Regions from separate parts of the Homo sapiens genome. Here all the other regions are linked to region 1. Evidence: promoter capture Hi-C in 16 types of primary human blood cells and fetal thymus (Javierre and others, 2016). All regions are on one chromosome and are shown on one strand. The core of a region is centred on a gene start or on the middle of the fragment in contact, and the rest is flanking DNA. Distances in the headings are between cores, read along the strand shown.

Region 1 (4,043 bases), core at 556-3,055:
CTCCCCTGGGCTGGATTTAATCTGAAGCTGGGTATAACCTGAAAGCTTCCCCTCCACCTTGCCTCAGCGGGCACCCTCGGGGTTTCGAGGAGCTAAACATGCGTTAGGCTGGTGAGTGGAGGAACTACTATCAATCCCAACAAAGTTTTATTCAAAAAGACTAACAGTGAAAAATGCCTCAGGCAGAAGCATGAGGCTAGGCATGAGGAGATCCCCAAAACAGGGAAGACAGTGGAAACAGTGGGGCAGAGGTGGGGCATCCTCATTCCATCATTCATGGTCTCTCTGGCCAAGGTACCATGGAGCAGGCCCCTAAAATCCTGAGATCAGCATGGTGCCAAGTGGGCCAGAAGGGCCATAGTCCCTCCAGACCAGTCCTACCACATTCCAGCTGAGGGGCCTTGGGTGGGTCACCTATCCTTTCCGAACCTATTTCCACACCTGTAAAGCAGGAATGGCTTGAAGGGGAGAGGAGTGGCAGGTGCCTGGTGCACACGGCAGGCTGCCACCACCAGCTCCAATGGGAACCCCCTCTCTGAGTCCTCTTTTCCTCAAAGTCTGTAAGGAAGGGGCTCAAAAAAGGACTTGGAAGATCCCTGACACTTCGAAGAAAAAGTGAGAGCCCGGGAGGCCCAGCGGCAAAGGTGGCAGCAGCCACCTGTCCTTCCTCCTGCTGCCAGCGTGTGCCCTGGATCCCCACCTAGGCAGGGGCGCAACCTGCCCAGCCAGTAGCTCCAACAGGAACTAGGCCTCTGACCACGCTGGCTCCAGTCCAGCACCACCCACAGGAGTGAGCTGGGGTGGATCACGGCCAGAAGGAGCCCTTCCCACCCCGTGCCCCTTCCCGCCTTCCTCCACCCAAAGCTCAGAAATCCAATGCCCAGGGAGAGCACAAGGAGGCTTTCTAGCGCTGAGGGGGCCTTACAGCCATCTTTCGCTTCACCTGTGGGGCGCTCCCTCGCATCTTGTTTGTCCCTTAGGCCCTGGCACACACAGAGAATGAATGGAGCCGGTCACCGCCCGGAGGAGTTGTCAGTTTCGCGGAGGCACTGCGAGGCGGGCAGAGCGGGGTTGTCCTTTGGGTGCTGGGGGGTCCTCGCCTTAAACCCTTCTGCTTAGCCCTGACCCTCACCTTTTCAGGGAGATGATAACTTCTCAAGGAGAAGGGAGCTAAGAGATCACTAACAGACTTGCCAATTTCTGGTAATTTTTTTTCTACTTTCGTCTTTTTTACTTTCTTGCCTCCCCGCCCCCATGTGAGCTCTTACACTATCGTCTTCGGAGAAAGACTCAATAAGACGCGCCATCCTGGAGACCCCAGCTCCCCGCCCTGCCACTGCTCTGATGGAGAAACTGAGGCCCGGGGCTCTGAGGGCGGGCTTCCTCCCCAGAGCTGTGCACTCACAGCGGGTTCCAGCGCTCGGGCAGGCGGCGGTGCAGTGAGATGCGGTCGCTGAGGTAGATGTTAATCTGGTGCAGCCGCACGCTCTCCTCCTGCAGCCGCAGCTCCTCGCCCTGCAGCTGCAGCCGCACCGCCTCGCCCCGCGCGCCCAGCGCGTTCGCCGGCACCGGCGGCCGCGGCATGACCGGCTCGCGCCGCCCGGGGCGCGGGGTGCGCGGGGGTCCCGGCTCGGCAGCCCCGGCCCCGGCCCCACGCTGCGCCCGCAGCACCGAGCCCAGCCCGGCCAACGCCAGTAGCGCCAGGAGCACCAACAGCGCCTCCCGGCCGCGCCGCAGTTCCCGCGGGCAGCGCCGCCGCGCCGTGCGCCCCCACATGCGCCCGCCAACTGCAGCCAGCGATCTGCGCGCCCCAAGGCGGCGGTGGAGGCCAGGACCCGGATCCCGGAACCGCCGTGCCGCCCCGCCCCCGGCCCGCCCCACCTGCGCGCCGCCCCCTTTCCGTCCAGCCCCGCGCCAGCCCAAGCGCAGCCCCCGGGGTGGCTCATTTCGGCAGGGTCTTCAAGTGGGCTGGCTGAGACTTGCATCTTCCTTCTTGGGCTATGGTGCATTATTAAAGAGATAGTGGTGGTAAAACCCTTAGCGCCTGGCATATTGTAGGCGCTAAGTGTTGGCTGAATACACCCTGCAGGGTGTTATGAATTCTACTGCCATTATCTCATCTGATCTTTACACAGTCCAATAAAACAACCATCAACTAGGATTACGAGCTCCCTTTTACAGATGAGGAGATGGAGGTGCGATGAGATCAACAGACACCACGCTGCCCCACTGACTTCTGCAGGCCCAGCCTCTGCCATACTCTTTGGAGTCCTTGAATAGCAAACCCTCGCCTGGCTCGCCTCGTGATAGCTCTGTGACCTCTGAGGCTAGGAGCAAAAGGCCATGAAGGCTGTACATGATAGTTCACACCTGTAATCCCAGGCCGAGATAGGAGGATCACTTGAAGCCAGGAGCTTAAAACGAGACTGGTCAACATAGCAAGACTCCCATCTCTACAGAAAAATTTCAGAATTAGCCATGCATGGTGGCACGTGCCTATAGTGCCAGCTACTCAGGATGCTGAAGCAGGAGGATTGTGTGAGCCCAGGAATTGGAGGTTACCGTGAACTATGCGCCACTGCGCTGCAGCCTGGATGACAAAGCGAGATCCTGTTTCTATTAAACAACAACCAAAAAAGGCCATGAAGCTGCCGCCCTGTTCATGAGATCACTGCTGTGGGAGCCTTGAGCTGCCAGGGACGAAGTAAGTCTAATGGAGTAGACAAATATTAAAAAGATAATTAGAATTGTGTTAAGTATTTTGAAGAAGAATTACAGGGCGCTAAAAGGGCTTAGAATAGTAGAACTTGATCTAGTTTGGGGGTTTTGGAAAGCTTCTCTGATGAAGTAATGTCTACACAGATATCTGAATGTAAAAGTGATAGCAGAGATTTCAAATCATATCTTAAATTAATCTGGAACTCCCTCTGCTGGTGTCTAGCTCAGGGAAAAGAATCATTCTGTATCCCCTGTAGAAGGATAGAGTGTAAGCTCTATTTGTTGTTGTTTGTTTTACCATGGGAAGTTGGTCCAAAGCTTTTTATCAAATATTCTCAAGGAGACCAGAAGCCCAGAAAGTTTAAAAAGCACAAATCTGGTCCAATTATCTCATTGATAAATGCGGGGTCTGAGACACAGGGTGGGGAGAGGACCTTGAACTTGGCGGCTCAGGTAGAGGTAGAATCTGACTTGCTGTTGTCTTCATACAGCCTTTGGCTACTGGTATCCCCAGAGGAAATCTCCCTCAGGTTGCAGGAGGGGGGTGGGTTTTGGGATGAACCATGCAAAGCAGCTCCCACTCAGGACAACCTGCTGCTAATATTAGACTAGAGGGAAGTGGCTCTTCCCACAGTGCTCAGGGCCCCGCCTGCTTCCCACGCAGAATGGAGGCTGCTGGTTAATGCCAGAAGGCGGTTGTGTTAGGTAGGTCTGGACCTGAGCCCTTTGGCCTCTGTTCAGACACCCAACACATTTAAGATCTGCGGTCAGATTAGAAAACAGACAAGGATTACAATTCATAATGTCTTGGATCCGCTTGCCAAATTGGAATGCTTCTCAATAGAGGTTCAGATACAGAGAAAAGAGAAATGCAATTAGGCCTTACAAGACATGGACTTAAGCCCCAGGTAACAGATAAAAGCTATTGTTTACTGAGCACACACTGTGTGCTGTAAACTGCTGGACTTTCTTTTTCATGTACTTTCTCATTTCACCCTATGACAACCTTGCAAGGTTGACAGATGAGAATATGTAGGCTCAAGAAGTGAAGCAACTTGCCCAAGGTTACACAACATGCAAGCGGTAGAGGGAGGATTTGTATCTGGGTCTCCTGACTCACAGTCCAGGATTTCCCACCACACCACTCACTGTTGGGCAGGCTGCAATGAGATGCAAAGGCAGCTTAGCTTAGGAGGTCGGAACACAACCTTGGAGCCCACTTGCCTGAGCTCAACCCAGCCCCATCACGAATTGCAGTGTGACCTCAGGCAAGTTGCTTTACTTATCTCGGCTCAATTTGCTCATCTATTAAATGGTGATCTAAT
Region 2 (4,043 bases), core at 412-2,911, 350 kb before region 1:
CTTTGTTATTAATATACACTGCACCTATATTGTAAACCCAACAGTATGGTGATGTAATTACTATATAGTCTTATGCTACTGAAAGATAACTTACATTTATTTTGGTAGGCAAATTATTTCCCCAAGATTCCCATTCTCTAGTTATTTAATCAAATACTAATCTTGGTACTGCAGTGAATGCACTTTGCAGGTAAAACTGAGGTTACTAAATAGGGTAATTATCCTGGATTATCCAGATGGCCCCCTGAGTAATCACATGGCCCCTTAAAAGCAGAAGAGGGAAGCAGAAGCATTAGAGAGATGCAGTGGAAGAGACAGTGGAGAGATGAGGCAGAAGGGGAGATCCGAGAAAAGTGCAAGGATGATTCAACCCATTGCTGCTGGTTTTGATGATGGAGGAGGGAACCACGAGCCAAAGAATTTGAGTGGCTTCTAGAAACTGACAACCACCCCTGGCCAACCTGTCTTACAACCATATGGAGCTGAATTCTGCCAACAACCTCAATGAGCTTGGAAGCCTATTCATCCGAGCCTCCAGAAAAGAATGTTGCCCAGCCAATGCCTTCATTTTGACCTTTTAAAATATGGAGCAGAGAACCATCTGAGCTATGCCTAGACTTCTGAATTATGGAATTCTGAGATCATAAATAGGTGTTGCTTTAAGCCAGGGCATTTGTAGTAATTTATGGCAGCTATACAATCATACAGTCTTTGCTAGTTGTACATATATCCACCATTTCTGGTGCTCTTCATTTCATCCTGTGGATTCAGGTTACCATCTGGTGTCATTTATTTTCTGTGTGAAGGATTTAGTATTTCTTGTAAGGCAGACGTCCATAGGCAACAAATTGTCTTAGTATTTGTCTGGGAATGTCTTTAATTTCACTTTTTTTCCAACTTTCAACAAAAGCTTCATATCCTGGTGATGTCTTTGTTATAAGGAAAAAAAAAAATCCCTAAATCCAGCCTTCAAATTGAAGTAACTATCTTTAATGTGAGAGCAATCCTATTCACAAAGCCCCTCCCCAGAGTCAATCAAGGGTTTGGGGACCACATCTCATCATTTTTCCAGTTCTCTTGTAAGCCAAGTTTTCACCCCCAGGAGACTAACAAATGTGCTGACCCAAAGGCAACAGAGATCACCTGTAGACAGGTCCATCATGCCCCAATGGAAGACCCACACCCCTAAGCATGTGGAGAAAAGCCCCCAGGCACAGAGACACACCTGCAGACAGGAGGGCACTCCCCGAACACGCTATAATATTGTAACTTGCACTAGGCAGGGTTAGAAAACTTCTAAAGACTCTTGTAACTCAAAGGTTCTAGTTGCCATCTACAGCAACTACATATGGCATGACTCATTCCAACGTATACACTTTATTTTAAAATATGCCACTGGCACTTGGGAAAAATGTAATTTATTTGCACTGCTTCCATTCTTCTACTGTAGTGTTAGGACTTAACATAAGCATCACTCTTCTATTTCCTATTTACATTCTTTTGGAATATTACTACAAATACAATATACAATTTAAAAAAACTTATGGGGAAACACAGCTTATGTTTTTTTCTCCTCTTTACAGGCTTCTCAGTATCATTCGACTTCAATGGAAATTTATATGGACATTTTCTGTACATATCTTAAAAGGCAGAGATTACACTGATAAAGCCTAAAGAATCCTGCACAAATACAATACAGAAAACAGAAAGTACAGACGATGTTATTTGGGGTACAAATATAAACAATACAGTACCATTTGAGTAACTGAGCAACATAATACCCATACTTTATAGAAATAAAACTGCAAACCTGGAGAATGCTCTGACAAATATTAAACATTATATACACAATGAGGTAAATGTACCTTGGTCTCTTGAGAGGTAATTTAAGTTTAAAGCAATTGACATTTTGAAGCATCTCCTTAACATATGAAGAAATATCAAACACCCTATTCCGTTGGCACAACGTGAAAAAGGGGTATCAAAACATGGTTCATGATATTCAGTTCACAAATCTTGTTAAAAAATAAAAACAAATTCACTGAAGTTCCTTTTAAGTTGTAATAAACAGGTTGAATGTTATTAACCATATTTTTAGAAGTTTACATTTACAAACAAGATTGCATAATGGGATTGAAAAGTTTAATGTACTGACAATCATCTTAATGTCCTAGAAGTCCAGCACTCTTGAGAGGGCCCATGGGTATTCCAGTAATCCAAAACAGAGACAAGAAGCTGCAGTACATGTCCAAAGATAATCCTTAGTATCTCAAAATATCTGAGCTGGCATTTTCTGCCAAAGTGTTAACAGAACCATTATTTGGAATCACTACCATTTGGAGCCAGAACACTGCCATGGTCAAGAAACAGTTGACTTACGATTCTTCCAGTGCAAGAATAAAAATAAGCTTTTGATGATGTGTCTAATGGGATAGTGATTTTGTTGTGCACTCTAACGATCTCTTTGCCATCTTGTTTTAATCTGACAGTTCTCAGACATAGAGAAAAAAGGTAACTCATGCATGTACTACAAAATCGCCAAGTGACCACTTACATTTTGTAATAAAACCTGAAATCTGGGATTCTTGATGGCCATGGCACTGTACACCAACTCAAGGCACTTCTTGAGCACTATCATTATTACAGCAGAATTACAGGCTCAGCTCTTCAGACCTTACCCTGTCTTATAGGCGATACAACTGGCCACTGTTTCTGGCACAACTCCACTGCCACAGGAGCCACCTTGCTGCCATCCCACTCCTCATCCATGGCTGAAGTCAAAGCAGGGGCATCCCAAGCCTCATCTGCTCAATCTCCAAACTTGGAGACCCCTCCCTTCCACCTCTAATGACTGAAGGAAATGGAAGTGGGTCCCACAACTTCCATCAGCCGTTTTACTCTAGGTCTCCAGAGCAGCCTTCAGTCAAACGGCTGTGGGGGAGGCAACGGTCTCTGCGTCAGGGACCAGCAAGCAGGAGAGCAGGTTCCAAGAAACAGCTGGAGACAGAAAGGATGGACCAGGGATGTCTATGCCTCACTAAGTCGTATTTCCCCCATCCCCATTTCTCCTGGCTACTGACAAAATGAATATGGACGCACAATTTACCAGAAGATGTTTTAGCCACGTTGAATCTTGGAAGGTGAGCATCCTAGGATGGGCAGTATAAACAACTGTGTTTTTAAATGACAAAATTATTACTCTAATCAAATTTATCTGCAGTTATCGACAGTAATCATGATCCATCCCACCTTTTAAGTTTCTTTCATTTTCAATATCAGCCAATTGTGGTTTATCAAACCATCCCTAGCCAAAAAAGGAATTAACTGCAGTAATACGTAAAGTCAATTTAGAACTAAACTCCAACTTTAAAAAAATTCCCTGATTCATCAAAAGTACATTTTATCCACTTAGGTAAGAAAAGTATAATTGTAACTCAATCTTTGATTCAATAAAAAATATCTTCAGCAAAAGTGGATAACCTTACATGAAAGTGAGAAATCATGTATTACAACTTTAAATCAGACAACTTTTGGTATATTCTTAAAATTATATAAAAATAGTTTTAGTGATAAAATGCATTGGTCCCCTGGATTTCATAAAGCAGATCTGGTAGGCTTAGAAATGGCCCAAAAACAACAACAAAAAAAAAAAAACAAAAAAAAAACCCCCACAAAAAAAGTACCTGATCACAGAATTAGAGATTATTATTAAACAAGTAATACAACACAACTATAAAAACAAACCTCTCAAACTCATTCATTTGCTTCAATGAAATTATGGTAACTACAGAAAAAAACTCAACTTTGTAGTCAAAATAGTAACCTCTAAGCATTTTTCCCATGATGTTTTTAAACACATGAAATTGACACTAAATTCCTATGTAATATGTCACTCATTCTAAAATTACTTTGGTTTTAAGATCAAATAGTCTTTCAAATTTATTCTACGTATAAGAGATAAGACATTATCAGAATGCAACTCATTCAGTGTAAATGGCCACTTTCTCTTCCTGACCAAAATACTGTATGGGTTACTCTGACCC
Region 3 (4,043 bases), core at 872-3,371, 300 kb before region 1:
GGCATCATCATAACCAACAGGGGAGGCAGACAAGCTGAGGCAGTCTGGGCTTAGAGTAATAAGCACCTGGACAGCTTTGTATTTTGTGCATACCATGGAGACTGTAAACTCCTCCAGGACATGGACTGAGCAATGTTCTGTGTCTTCAACTAAGTCCACTACTGTTACTTGAATACATGAACGCTTCTTGTGCTACTTCTGGTGGAAAAGAGTGCACTGTGTTATTCAAGTTAATAGCGGTGTGGAAATGTTACCTGTGTTTCATGCCTAACTATACTGATTCTCCCAAATGTCCACACAGTTATCCTGCCTTCCTCCCTAGGCCAATGTCAAAAATCCATTGTTTCCTCTAATGCAGGCCCACGTGAAGGGACTCAACAATGTGCTAAGAGTCGGAATGAAGCCTATCTGATACTCAAATCATGAGGACAGAATCCAAAGTGGATAATAAAGACCAATTGCTCATCAGACGACTGAAGAAGAAAAATGGGCTACGCCAGATAGTATGATGTATACATATTTATATATATATATGACATACAGGTTTGGGAAACTGAGATCTGAGTGAAAATCCTAGCTTTAGCACTTAAGTTATTGGGTACTTAACGTGTCTGTACCCCACTTTGCACATCTGTAAAGTGGGGCAAATGCCACTACTCCTGGGAGTTTACTTGTGGTGATTAAATAATGTAATTATACAATAGTGTATGCATTTACATCGTAGTAATGCACAATACATAGACGGTAGCTATTAGGACTGATTATAATCGTCACCGTCAGTCTTGATTTTTTAAAAAAATTTCAACATCTTTTGTCCAGTTTCAGAAACAGAAATGTACTTTCACTGCATTTTAGTTGCTAACACTGAGGCTGTGTATTTTAGCTTCTAGTGTCTCAGTTCAGCTGCTAACGAAGTTTTTCACTCATCCCTTTGTGGATACCAACCACCTACCCCAACCTGATTTACTATTTTGAAAAATCCAGCCAACAGTCTTCCTTGAAAACCAGCTATACAGATGTCTGAATCAAACTATTAACTGTCACTCAAGAAAAGGAACAACGTGAGTGATGTTCCTTCGAGGAAATAAAAAGCGTTTAATCAATTCACAGTCGTTCCCAAAATTTCCAAAACCCGCAGAATGAGCAAACGTTCAAGTTTCCACTATGAAAACAATCCGTAGCCGTCTGGTTACTGGACTCACTTCAACACTCCCCAGACGCACGAAAGAAGAAACATTCCGCGCATCTCCGCGCTTCCTTCTTCTCACACAAAGCCCCCCTGGCTGGAGGAGCAGCCCCTTCCAGCAGGGTCGGCTCGGGTCGAGCCGGGCGGGAGTCAGGGCGGCCTGCGGACCCAGGGGTCTCACCACACGTCGCCCCCGACTCCCACTGGACGAAGCCCTAGAGGCTCGGAGCTCACACCCCGCCCGGGAGCCGCCTTCCACCCCAACCTCAAACCCCGCCCCGGGTTCGGCAGCCTCTGGCACGGACCCTCTTGGGGCGGGGGTCCCCAGAACAAGGTCACGCCGTGCCCAGGGGGCGGCGGCGGGCAGCCACGGCTCTGCCAGTCCCCGCCGGCCTCGCACTCTCCGCCCCTGGCCCTCGCCCACTCACACCCCAGAGGGCAGCCCCGGACCTCGGACGACTCCGCCCGACTCCACCTCCCCGGGGAGTCCCGAGCGGGGCGGCCTCGGGCAGCCGGACACGTCCGCCCGCGCCCGGACACACGCCCCTGCCCCGCCTCCGCTCCCCGCTTGCGGTTCGCCCGGCAGCCGCCGAGCCGCGCGGCGCCACGAGAGCCCGGCCCGGGCCCCGGCGCCGCCACCTGCGCCCCCGGCCCCGCGCCATGTTTGAGAAAGAGCAGGAGCGAGCCAGAGGCCGGGTCCGGCCCGCGCGCCCCGCAGTCGCCCGCCCGCCGCGCCGCCGCTCACCCGTCGCCCCCGGGAGCAGCGCCGCCGCCGCCGCCGCCGCCGCCGCCAGCACGAGGAGGAGCAGCCGGGGACGCGGAGCAGCGACCGCCGCCTCCATGGTCCCGCCGCCACCGCCTGTGGCCCGGCCCGGCCCGGCCGCGCCGCTGCCTCACCCCAGCAAACCTCGCCTCGCCCCACCTCCCTAGCCGCCGCGGCGGCCTCGCTCCGGCCCTTTGTAACTGCTCGGAGGACGCGCGTCCATTGGCTGCCGGGCTCCCGCCGGCCCCGCCTCCCCGCCGCCGCGAGCTGCCAAGCGGGACCCAGCCGGGAGCCCCGCCTGCGGGCCCGCCAGGCAGCCAATCCGCAGCCGCGAGCGCCGGTTTCTGGCCACGCCCCACGCTCCCCGGGGGCTGGGCCGCCAGACCCCAGCCCCGGCCCGATCGGCTCCCGGCTCCGAGAGGCCGCGTGGGGGCGGGGTCTGCCAGCCCCAGCACCGCTCAGCCGCTAGCCCCGGAGGGCCGGGTAGAGCGATGGGTGTGTCTGTGTGAGTCTCTTTCGGAAAAAGGCTGTGGCCGTTCGACGCTCTTTTCTTCTAACCTCCTCTAGGCGCGGAAGATCTGGTACTGCCTCAGCCCCACCCTGACCCCATTCACAGCTCCGCATTGGCAATCCCAGCACATGCCACCCAGATCCGCTGCAGCGCCAGGCCCCTGCATCCACTTCAACTTCCCCTCTCCAAGTCCACGCATCAACTTCAGCATTCCCCCGAAGATCCCTCCTCAGTGCCCTTCACATGCGACTCACTCTCCTATTTCCTCCTGCTCCCAGCGGTCACCCCAAACCCAGCTCCCCCACCCAGTTCCAAACCCAGAAAGTCCTCAGATCCCAGCGTCAGACCCAGATCCTGAGCCCAAACACACCCCCAAATAGCCTCCCGCCTCCCTCCAGCACAGATCCAGGATGGGGATCCAAGCCGCACTCCTCTCAAACCCCTTCCCGATCCAGGTTGGAAAGGGAGGATCCCCACCCCAACCCCTCAAAGGAGGGGTTCCCCCTTCTTAGCACCCAGCTCCCGCGGGGCGGAGGGGGAGCAGTCATCATTACTTTGAGCTGTGTCTGACACTGCTGTATAATAATCCTGAGGTGTCACTAAAAACCCAAATAAACTCTACGTTTTCATTCTGAATTCCTAATTTACTGCGAGACGCTCCACCCACCTTCCCTCTGCGACGCCAAAATGAGCTCCAGATTTGTAATTCTTCCTGTCAGACTAGTCCTTTCTTCAGACACAAACACAGCCAAGGAGGCTGTTACGTAGAACAGAGAATATTTTTCCGCAGAACCTTTTAAGGAGGAAATTTTATTTTCTGTGTCATTTGAGCTTAGAATTAAATAAACCTTGATAGCAGGAATCAGAATGGTTCTGATTAATGCCAATTTGTGCACTACTTTAGAGTCACTGGGTGAGCATTTTCCCCACCTGTGAAGGCTTCCTTCCGGGAGATGAAAAGGGAAAAGGCGTGGATATTGGAGCTGGGATCTGAGACCCGCGCGCTTTCTCCCTCCTGTCTAGGACACTTACTTAAGCAAGTCAGCTAACCTTTCTGAACCTCCAACAGGCTCAGAGGCCTGCAACTTGCTCTACACCGCAGCTCCAGCAGCCTCAGCAGCAAACTCCCCTCTTGCTCAGGCTGAGGGATTCCAGAGAGATGGCTTCTGGCAGGCTCCAGTCCCAATTTGCCCTCTCAGTTCCAGTTTCTTCAATGGAGATTTGGTGGACTTTGTGCCACCTGAGGTCCCTAGACTGCCTTTTTGCTGCTCTATTTGCAATGTCTTTCATAAGATAAGAGCTAATGAGATTTTTATTGTATGAATGAATGAATGATCTCAGAAAGTGACTGTTTTTCTCTGGCCATTAGCTTCTTCATCTCTAAAATGTAAATAATAATAGTACCTACCCCGTTTATAAATAAAAGGGATTGAATCACTTGTCTTGGGCCCCTTAAATGACGTAATGTGTCTGGTACAGTGTCTGGAACATAGTAAATATTTAGCTAATGCCATTTCTTTGCCCATCCCCTTCCAGCTCTGTATGATTCTAATCAGCATGTATGTTCATGTCAGTCTGTGCCT

What was found. Contacts are between HindIII fragments. The CHiCAGO score rates a contact against its expected background, and 5 or more counts as called.
Region 2: a fragment that was not itself captured here is called in contact with the fragment with the promoter of GALNT12 in region 1 in 1 of 17 cell types (M0 macrophages); the score reaches 5.3 in M0 macrophages.
Region 3: the fragment with the promoter of TGFBR1 here is called in contact with the fragment with the promoter of GALNT12 in region 1 in 15 of 17 cell types (M0 macrophages, M2 macrophages, M1 macrophages and 12 more); the score reaches 30.8 in M0 macrophages.

The regions. Positions count from the first base shown.
Region 1 is chr9:98,805,432-98,809,474 of GRCh38, reverse strand. It overlaps GALNT12 (polypeptide N-acetylgalactosaminyltransferase 12), which reads right to left and starts at 1,805. Exons shown (of 10, transcript NM_024642.5): 1 at 1,406-1,805. The coding sequence starts at 1,776. It overlaps LOC124902229 (a long non-coding RNA gene), which reads left to right and starts at 1,895. Exons shown (of 2, transcript XR_007061689.1): 1 at 1,895-2,704. RefSeq lists silencers at 1,664-1,733, 1,834-1,923. The HindIII fragment of the contact is 2,789 bases long and covers 48-2,836 here.
Region 2 is chr9:99,151,009-99,155,051 of GRCh38, reverse strand. TGFBR1 (transforming growth factor beta receptor 1) reads right to left here. Exons shown (of 9, transcript NM_004612.4): 9 at 860-4,043. Among named protein-coding and RNA genes, the nearest start is that of TGFBR1, 48 kb to the right of the region's middle. The HindIII fragment of the contact is 1,498 bases long and covers 913-2,410 here.
Region 3 is chr9:99,103,191-99,107,233 of GRCh38, reverse strand. It overlaps TGFBR1 (transforming growth factor beta receptor 1), which reads right to left and starts at 2,121. Exons shown (of 9, transcript NM_004612.4): 1 at 1,932-2,121. The coding sequence starts at 2,028. RefSeq lists silencers at 1,394-1,903, 1,994-2,593. The HindIII fragment of the contact is 12,693 bases long and covers 1-4,043 here.